2 separate regions of the Homo sapiens genome follow, and region 1 is linked to region 2. Evidence: promoter capture Hi-C in 16 types of primary human blood cells and fetal thymus (Javierre and others, 2016). All regions are on one chromosome and are shown on one strand. The core of a region is centred on a gene start or on the middle of the fragment in contact, and the rest is flanking DNA. Distances in the headings are between cores, read along the strand shown.

Evidence for each region. The method cuts DNA at HindIII sites, captures the fragments that hold promoters and counts their contacts. A CHiCAGO score of 5 or more calls a contact.
Region 1: a fragment that was not itself captured here is called in contact with the fragment with the promoter of ZFC3H1 in region 2 in 1 of 17 cell types (non-activated CD4 T cells); the score reaches 5.7 in non-activated CD4 T cells.

The regions. Positions count from the first base shown.
Region 1 is chr12:75,396,858-75,401,715 of GRCh38, reverse strand. The region is part of intron 1 of GLIPR1L2 (GLIPR1 like 2); the gene reads right to left. Among named protein-coding and RNA genes, the nearest start is that of GLIPR1L2, 8.2 kb to the right of the region's middle. The HindIII fragment of the contact is 8,872 bases long and covers 1-4,858 here.
Region 2 is chr12:71,660,544-71,665,382 of GRCh38, reverse strand. It overlaps ZFC3H1 (zinc finger C3H1-type containing), which reads left to right and starts at 1,535. Exons shown (of 35, transcript NM_144982.5): 1 at 1,535-2,370. The coding sequence starts at 1,773. It overlaps THAP2 (THAP domain containing 2), which reads right to left and starts at 1,082. Exons shown (of 3, transcript NM_031435.4): 1 at 803-1,082. The coding sequence starts at 873. RefSeq lists enhancers at 1,073-1,432, 882-1,440, 1,793-1,912. The HindIII fragment of the contact is 1,665 bases long and covers 933-2,597 here.

The sequences.
Region 1 (4,858 bases), core at 1,680-4,179, 3.7 Mb before region 2:
CCAACATTTTTTGTTCTTTCTAGTTTTATTACATTCTAGTCAGAAATTTAGCGTGTAAAATTTCTACTTAAGTTTTTCTTTATGAGCATAAAACAGATGTTTTTCATGGATATTAGAATCCCTTATTGACAGGATTATTTGTTCGTTGCTATATATAATTTACTTGTCAAATCTATTTTATAAGACTTTAAAAGAAGTATAGAAAACATCCCACAATTATCTTGTTTTAAAAAATATTTCTTCGTATTTTTAGGAAATTTCACTTGATATATTTTCTATTTTGGCCAGTGCGAAGGCCTTTATTTTATCTTCATGGATTATACCTTTTTTTTTCCAATACATAGTATTTCTTTTTATCTTTAGTCTTCATTTCTATATTATTTTATAATATTGTTTCTCTTTTTTAACTTGGAAGTTTCATAAATATTTTTATTCATATTTTTATTTTCAATCATTTCAGGTATATATTTTTGCAAATTATTGATAAAGAAATTAAATTCACTCATATTTATGATAACATATTTAGTTTATTTTAAAATATTATTTTATGTTTACAGTTTTTTAAAAGTCATTTCCTATTTTTCCCTCCTTATATTACAGGCTTGATGAAGTTTCTTTGTATTGCTCACTTCTCTTTTGTAAATCTGGAAGTTCAAGTAACTTTTCCCATCTGCTAGCCACCAACATCAAATCATTATGATAATCTTTATGATTATCTTAACTATCTTTAACTTCAATTACCATGTTTAAAATTACATATGATTAAATAACAAAAATACACACACATATATATATATAAAATTATGCTCACTTCCATTTTGATGTTTTGTTTGCCCATTTCATGCCATCGTACACAAAGATCAGACTTCAGGAATGCTAGCCCTAATACACTAAATACTGTATTTTACTGAGGATATTGTTTTAAATTGTTGCCGTTACATTTTTTTGCTGTATATATTTTTTGTTTCATGAATGCTTTATCACTTATAATCTCCAGTGAAATTATCAACACGCATTAAAGAATATTTTGTTTTAAAAATAATTTTTTTGAACAGATATCTAATACTTTATAAAAACAAAATCACATAAAATCATTGAGAAGTCATGTTGTCTTGCTCTCCACCATCCTATTTCCCCAGGACTTCTATAAGTAACTAATTAATTCCGTGGATCTGTCCACTATTTTCTATTCAAATATACATTATTTTAAATTTTCGTATACAAAACGTATCATAATGTACCTTGCTTTTCCAAGATCCATGAGATATTGTGTTGTTAGTATAAAGAACGTTCAGGCCGGGCACGGTGGCTCACGCCTGTAATCCCAGCACTTTGGGAGGCCAAGGCGGGAGGATCACGAGGTCAGGAGATTGAGACCATCCTATAACGTGGTGAAAACCTATATCTACTAAAAAAAATACAAAAAAAAATTAGCCGGGCGTGGTGGCAGGTGCCTGTAGTCCCAGCTACTCGGGAGGCTGAGGCAGGAGAATGGCATGAACCCAGGAGGCAGAGGTTGCAGTGAGCCGAGATGGCGCCACTGCACTCCGGTCTGGGCAACAGAGCGAGACTCTGTCTCAAAAAATAAAAATAAAAAAATAAAAAACGTTCTCATTCTTTTTTTTCCCCACAGGTGTATGGTATTCTTTTATGTGGGTGAACCACACTTACTTTAGTTAACCCTCAGTGCTGGAGATTAGAGTATCTTTCCAATAATTTGTTAATATTAAATGATGGTACAGTGAATAACCGTTTAGGGATACCATTTCCTTCTTGTATAGTATGTCCTTAGGATAGATACCAGAAATGGGACCAGAGAGCCAAAGAGTAAATACATCTGTAATGTAGTAGGTATTGCCAGATTCTTCTCTACAAGGACTATATCATTTTGCTTTCACACCAGTAGTACATGGAGTAGGCATGGTCTTTGACTTTGACACAAAATCCAGAAGCAATTTTAAAAAACTGATTAGTCAGCTACACAAAAATGTTAAAAAGTCTGAATAGCAAAAAATACATATGTAGATTTAAAAAACTGACAAACTGGGAACATAATTACAACTCATACCAAAGACGAAGGGCTCATTTCCCAAATAAATAATGGGAGAAAAAAAGGCAAAAAAACTAATAGAAAAATAATCATTAAAGGATACTAACAGATCCTTATTCACATGAAAGGATACACAGCTTTGCTTATAATAAGAGAAATAAAAATCACAGATCATATTTTACCTATCAGGCTAGTAAAACTCCAAAGTTCAACAATAGTTTTGTTGTCTTGTCTGTGGGGAATTGTTGACTAGTTGGAATTTATATTGATGTATGGATGAAGCAATATTACCTTTTTCAAATGACTACCCAGATTGATCAACACCAATTTATTAAAAAGTCTATCTATAGCTCACAGATTTGAGATGCTACTTTTATCATATGCTAAACACTCATATATTTGGGTTATTTCTGAACTCTATATCTTTCAATGGTATATCTTTTAACATACTAATACTGTATTATTTTACTTAGTGAGGCTTTATTATATGCTATAAAATCTAATATGTTCAATAACCCTCATTTTTCAAAATATCCTGGCTATGCTTATTTATTTTTAAAACAACCTGAATGTCCATCAATAAAGGAATAGGTAAAAAAGGTAGTACATTTAAGGGATAAATAGCATAGCAAATAAAACTGAATTAACTAGATTTATATCAACAAATAAATCTCAAATGTATAGTTTTGAATGAAAAACCAAGTAACATGATAAATTCCACATAATGCCACTTATAGAAATATAAGACGGAAACCTCCAAACATTGTGTTTTTGGTCTAGATAATCACATATATATTCAAAACCTTAAAAAATGTATTAGAATGATTCATATCAAACTCATAAAGGTTATTTTCTCTGGGGATGGAGAAAGGGAACATAACTGAAGTGGCTGTTAGAAAATGTTAACATTGACTGCACTGTTCTTTCTTTTTTTAAAAAAGGAGGAAGATTTATTTGTAATATTAAATTAAAAATTGATATTACATATAAAACTACAGCCCATTATCTGGTACATGAGAGGAGTCTAAGTCTTGAGCCTTCTCCTAGTACTACCATGTCAGGTTAGAATTAGGAATCACTCAGCCCCAGAACAGCTCAGAAAAAGAAGGGAGGGATTCTGTGCTCCTAGCATCCAAGAATGTAAGAAAGTTGAAGCAACAAAGAGGACGAAGCTAAGACACAATCTTCTAATATTACAAACCCATAAAAATGGGAATAAAATGTTTAGTTTAAATCCTATGAAATTGCTTGCGTTTTCTAGGTCAAAAATGGTTGAAGAGCAATTCATATAATTCAATCTTTATATGATAAAAGTTTTTTTTTTTTTTTTTTTTTTTGAGATGGAGTCTCATTCTATCGCCCAGGCTGGAGTACAGTGGTGCGATCTCAGCTCACTGCAACCTCTGCTTCCCGGGTTCAAGCGATTCTCCTGCCTCAGCCTTCGGAGTAGCTAGGATTACAGGCGCCTGCCACAACGCTCGGCAATTTTTGTATTGTTAGTAGGGACAGGGTTTCACCATGTTGGCCAGGCTGGTCAGAACTCCTAACCTCAAGTGATCTGCCCGCCTTGGCCTCCCGAAGTGTTGGGATTACAGGCGTGAGCCACCGCTCCCGGCATTTTTTTTTTTTTTTTTTTAAATCCACAGCTGAGCTCAAAGGAAGGAAAGGTAATACTCAGGTGCCAGAAATGAAGAGAAAAGTTAAAAGTCCGAGTGGTGAACTCATGTGCCTAATCGGAGGAGAGGAAATATCAGATTAGATATAAATGCCAACAATATAGGAAGAAGATGTAGCCATAGAACCATCTAAGACAAGTTCTGGGACTGAAATATTTGCGGAAAAATCAGGATGCCGACTTCTTCCTAAATGAAGCAGACCACCAAACCCTTCCTAGAAGTCTGAGGAAGTGACAGAAAGTCAGATGGAAAAAAGTCATGTCATGTGAGAAATCAGTTCTAGATCTATCCTATGCCTACAAGTGGACACTATACTTACATTGCCTATATATGCTGAGAATACCCAAACAAATTTTAAATATCAAAACTTAACACATTATAAATATAAAAAATATAAATGTAAAACTGACTGTAACAGGGGAGTAAGGCAAAAGCTAATAAAAATTAGTCTGTAGCAATATTTATTTTTCCACTATTTGGACAATATGGGACTCTTTCACACACACACAATCTCTGCTGAAAATAAGCATAGGATAGAAAATTATAAACATGACAGAGGCTCAGTAGCTAAAACAAGAGAACTGGCACCCAAAGAAACTAAAATAATAAAGCACTAAAAATATTTTATGAAAATATAAAATAATTATGTTTAAAATGATTAAATGAGTGTAAAAATAGAAATCATAAGAGAAAACAGGACACTGGGGGAATATGAGCAAATTAAAAAAAAAGTCTAGAAATTTTAAAAAATCAATTGGCCAGTTAAATATATCATAAAAATCTGAAGAGAAAACTAGTGAATGAACAGCAGTTCTAAAGCAATGACTCTGAAGGAAAACAGAAAAAGAGATGGACTGTAGGGAGAAAATGGAGAGCTGTGGAGAAAAGGAATGAAAAAGTCAAACATACATCTAATAGGAGTTCAAGACAGGGAGACTAGAGAGCATGGGGAAGAGGCAACATTCTATGAAATAATACTGAAGAATTTTAGTCTTAACAATGGACATGGATACAGAGATTAAAAAGAAAAGTCCTGAACAAAATAAATAAAAATAAATGCATGCTTAGTACTAGTATGGGGTAAAACTACAGAACAGCAAATATAAAATATTTAAAGTAGCTGGAGAGAAAA
Region 2 (4,839 bases), core at 286-2,785:
GTCAAGGATATAATTTCTACATACTAACATATACGTTGTTAGGTATATAAAATATATAAAATCAGGACTGGTGTCACTTAACTTTTTAATGTGTCTTTTCTTCGGGCACGTGGCAGGCACTTGCAGAGAAGGTAAACATTTACAGAGTACCTGTTATTTTCCAGGCATTGTTCAAAGTGCTTTCAAGAGTTCTGGTTTGACAGAACTAAAGAATTTTGATTTTTCTTCCAGCAAACAAAAGAAAACCTAGGTTCTTTTTATTACTCTATTCTAGTAAGAACAGAAAGGTTATCTTTTGCACTTTAATTAACATCGCTTAATTCCATGGCTATCAAAGATGACTCAATTCCTCCGCAGAATTACTATGTGACTATTAGAAATCTAAATGCCTCCCATGTCAATTCATCTAGTGAGAATTTCCTAATTTTAACGGGAACACAGCAGGCTTTTACGGTGATTGCTGATTGGGAAGATCTCTTTCTCCCTTACGGCGTCATTCATGTCAAGGCCCGGTCTAACAGAGGAATAAAACAGTAGAAAATTACGATATCCTCCTGTTACTTTTTTTTACTAAGGGGTAATGACCAAACAGTACTTGGATTTCTTTTAGAAAATGAGTAAAGCTTCCCCGAAAGCAGAGAACAATTGGGCAGATTTGAGAAACACAAAGGACATACGATGCTTCCCTGCTACCAGCTGGGAAAGTTATTAGAATTAGCAGAATCCTCCTGTTCCTTCCACACAAGCGATAGCCACAATAGGAACTCCAGTTTCCGTCACCCCCACTCCCTGCCCAGGTTACCTGTGGAAGCTGATGTTAATGTGCTTGTTGTAGGTAGTGGCACAGCCCGCCGCAGCGCAATTGGTCGGCATTTCCCTTTCCCACTCATTCAGCGCCCTTAGGTCTCTACTGAGGCGCTGGCTGCTAAGCTTTCTTCTGGCAGAGGCTGGACAATCGAGGCAGGCGTGCCTTAATCGTGAGAGCTTAGTCGTGAGAGCGGAGTGGGAAGAAGGGGTGTGTATGTGGGGGCGGAGGCGAAGGACGGTCAGCCTTCCCTTTCTCTTTATTAATATGGCCGACTAGAGCCCACAGAACTGGCCCTCCTGGAGCTCTAGTCGCCTTCGCTTGACTTCACCAACATGGCGGACACAACCCGTTCTTTCTCCCCGCCCCCAAGAGGGAGCGGATCTACTGCGTTTCTTTGGCAGCGGTCCTCAGAGCAATTAAAAGGAAGAGGTGTTTTCCCCTCCGATTACTATAAATTACAAGAGTTTTACAATAAAACTCTCTCAAGGCTGCAACAGCAGCTCCACCTACTTCTGCATGCACCCAACTGTACCAAGCCAGACCCTGCGGTGGGTGTGACCCTAGGACCGGAAGAGTAAACCCGAAGAAAGACGAAAGACTACAAATCCTAGTGAGTATCGAGTTGGTCTTATTATCGCGTGAACTGGGAGCCTTTGTTTCCTGCGTGTCGCAGGAAGTGACGTTTCGGGTACAGCCGCTACCAGAGTCCCTTTCTCGCGAGGCGGAAGAACCCCGATCGCTGAGGAGCAAGGGGGCGCTAGGAAAGGGAACTGGGTTGCGACGGTCCGGCGAGAGAGAGCTGGGGTGCTGGGGTGCGGGGAAGTTGGGGAGCAGAGGCCGCTTGGTGTCCGAGTAGGGTAAGACCGCACCGACCCAGTCCGTTAGGAAAGAAGGGAAACGAGGCAATTGTCGGGCGGATCCCCGGACGGAGGGCTAAGGTTGTGTGGAAGGCGCTGCTCCCCGGATGGCGACCGCAGATACTCCGGCCCCGGCCTCCAGTGGCCTCTCGCCGAAGGAAGAAGGGGAGCTTGAAGATGGGGAAATCAGTGACGACGATAATAACAGCCAGATACGGAGTCGGAGCAGCAGCAGCAGCAGCGGCGGCGGGCTGTTACCCTATCCGCGGCGAAGGCCTCCTCACTCGGCCCGGGGCGGTGGATCTGGCGGAGGCGGTGGCTCTTCCTCGTCATCGTCCTCTTCTCAGCAGCAGCTGAGGAATTTCTCACGCTCGCGGCACGCGTCTGAGCGGGGCCACCTCAGGGGACCCAGCAGCTACCGACCCAAAGAACCGTTCCGGTCTCATCCGCCTTCTGTACGGATGCCTTCGAGCTCACTGTCCGAAAGCAGTCCCCGGCCGTCTTTCTGGGAGCGGAGCCACCTCGCCTTGGACCGTTTCCGCTTTCGAGGCAGGCCTTACCGGGGTGGGAGTCGCTGGAGTCGGGGGCGAGGAGTGGGTGAGCGAGGAGGCAAGCCGGGGTGCAGACCTCCTCTGGGAGGAGGAGCAGGATCCGGGTTCAGCAGCAGTCAGAGCTGGCGAGAGCCCTCTCCACCTCGGAAGAGCTGTATCCTTAACGTGGCGGTCGGCGCTGGGTGTGTCACTAAAGTTCCCTTTAGCGTCATTACTAGGTCTGTGAGACGAGTGTAACTTTGAATCATCAGAACCGCTTATTTCTCCCTGTGTCAGTATACTTTAAGTTGTTCTTTGGTAATTCCCCATGTGTCACACTATAGCGTTATTCTTAAGACTGCTTCATTGGGTATATTAACGTGCTGTGGATTGGGTTAAGCTTATGAAATCTAAGACAGTTAAGTCTGATTTGTAATAATACCTTAGAAGCCCAAGTTTCATTAGCATTTGTATTTTTGCTGGTACAGAAACTTTGTGTTTTATATGAAGTTGACTTGGATTGTTAGAGAAAAAATATTCATAAACAGTTTAAGTAATATTGTTGCTTTATCATATTGCAGTTTGACGTTGAAAATTGTAAAGTTTTAATCTGCACAGTCCTGCACTATTTTTGTGATTCTGTTTTTATCTTGATTTATTCCGGTTGCTGCCTTTTAAAGTGGGGGGGGGAGGGGTAAAAAAAAAACAACTCTGGTGTCTTTACCAAGTCTGTTTCAGAGCTTTTTGATTCATTTGATCTTTTTGGAACACTTTACCTCCTTTACGTTTCTATCTGTGTTCACTTTTGCACATTGTGTAACTTCGTGCTGACTAAATGAGGGCCAGAGAGAGAAAGATAAACTTATCAGCATTTTTATTTTAATACGTTAGAGTGGAGGAATGTGTATGCGAGGGTGGAGATTACGGGTAAGTTGAGAAAGGAAATAGTAACATTCCAGATTTTTCCTACTTCTAACCTTATTCTCAGTTTTAAACATTACTGAGTTTACTCAGCATTTATACAGAGGAATCAATCATCCGAAGGTTTCCTGTTTTATAATGGGTTTGTAAAACACTATCTTGACTTAATCTGTGATCATTGCAAAAATTGTTTAAAGACTTTCATTACTGGTTGTAATTCACATAGTGTGATGATTTTTAATTTCGTTATTATATATGAAACTTAAAAGTAATGACAGTTATTTGGAAGACAATCAGAATTACTTTTATAGAACACTTAGGTCCAGAATAGGTCTTTCTCAAATGTCATGATGTAAAAGGGGCAAGGAATGTACATTTAGGTGAGAAACAGCAGCTTCTGATGCTAGTTCCCTGAAAAACCTTACTTCTGCAACCAAAAGTTGGGTTAGGAGTATTTCAGGATTGTTTCGGAGAAAATCATGTAGGCGCCAGGCGTGGTGGCTCACGCCTGTAATCCCAACACTTTGAGAGGCCGAGGCGGTGGATCACTTGAGATCAGGAGTTCCAGACCAGCTTGGCCAACATGGTGAAACCTTGTCTCTACTAAAAATAAAAAAGTTAGCCAGGCGTGGTGTTGGGTGCTTGTATTTCCAGCTACCCGGGAGGCTGAGGCAGGAGAACCGATTGAACTCGGGAGGCAGAGTTGTAGTGAGCAGAGATTGCACCACTGCACTCCATCCTGGGCGGTAAAGCGAGACTCCGTTTCAAAAAAAAAAAAAAAAGGAAAATTATATAGATATTTAACTTTTTAAAAGCCAGCAAATGGTTCTTCCAAGAAGGTTAGAAAACCTCTGCCCACGGTGTTTCTTAATCCATGGATTTGTGGTCTATTTTGAATCCAAAAGCCAGAAAGGCTATTTAAGCATATATATGTGTATGGTTTTTATTTATTTATTTATTTATTTTTGAGACAGAGTCTCGCTCTGTCGCCCAGGCTGGAGTGCAGTGGTGTGATCTCGGCTCACTGCAAGCTCCGCCTCCCGGGTTCACGCCATTCGGCCTCAGTCTCCCGAGTAGCTGGGACTACAGGCGCCCGCCACCACGCCCGGCTAATTTTTTATATTTTTAGTAGAGACAGGGTTTCATCATGTTAGCCAGGATGGTCTCGATCTCCTGACTCCGTGATCCGCCCACCTCGGCCTCCCAAAGTGCTGGGATTACAGGCATGAGCCACCGTGCCCAGCCAATGTGGATGGTTTTTAAATTTTTTTAATTAAAAAAAATTTTTATTAAATTTATTTAAAAAAATTTTTTTTTGGGGAGACGAAGTCTTGCTATGTTGCCCAGGCTGATCTTGAACTTGTAGCTTCAAGAGATCCTCCTTCCTTAGACTCCCAAAGTGCTGGGATTTATAGGCGAGAGCCACCAGTTTATATGTGTTTTTTAAAGGTACAAAGATGAAACCTGTAGTTTGTATTAGGGAAACAAATGAAAATAAGTAGTTGCAGTTTAGTATAAAAAGTTGAAACTGAAGTATGTATATAAAAAAGTACTATGGGAGCTCAAAGGTTTTTCTTAAAATTTTTATTCTGTATTAGAAAAGGGGGAGGTGAGTGGGCTTTCTGCTTTTGTCCTCTTTCTGCGTGTTTATTCAATACTATTTTGGGCCTCTACCATAGACCTTTATTAATTGGTAAGCTTGCATGTTTTTATTAGTAAACTG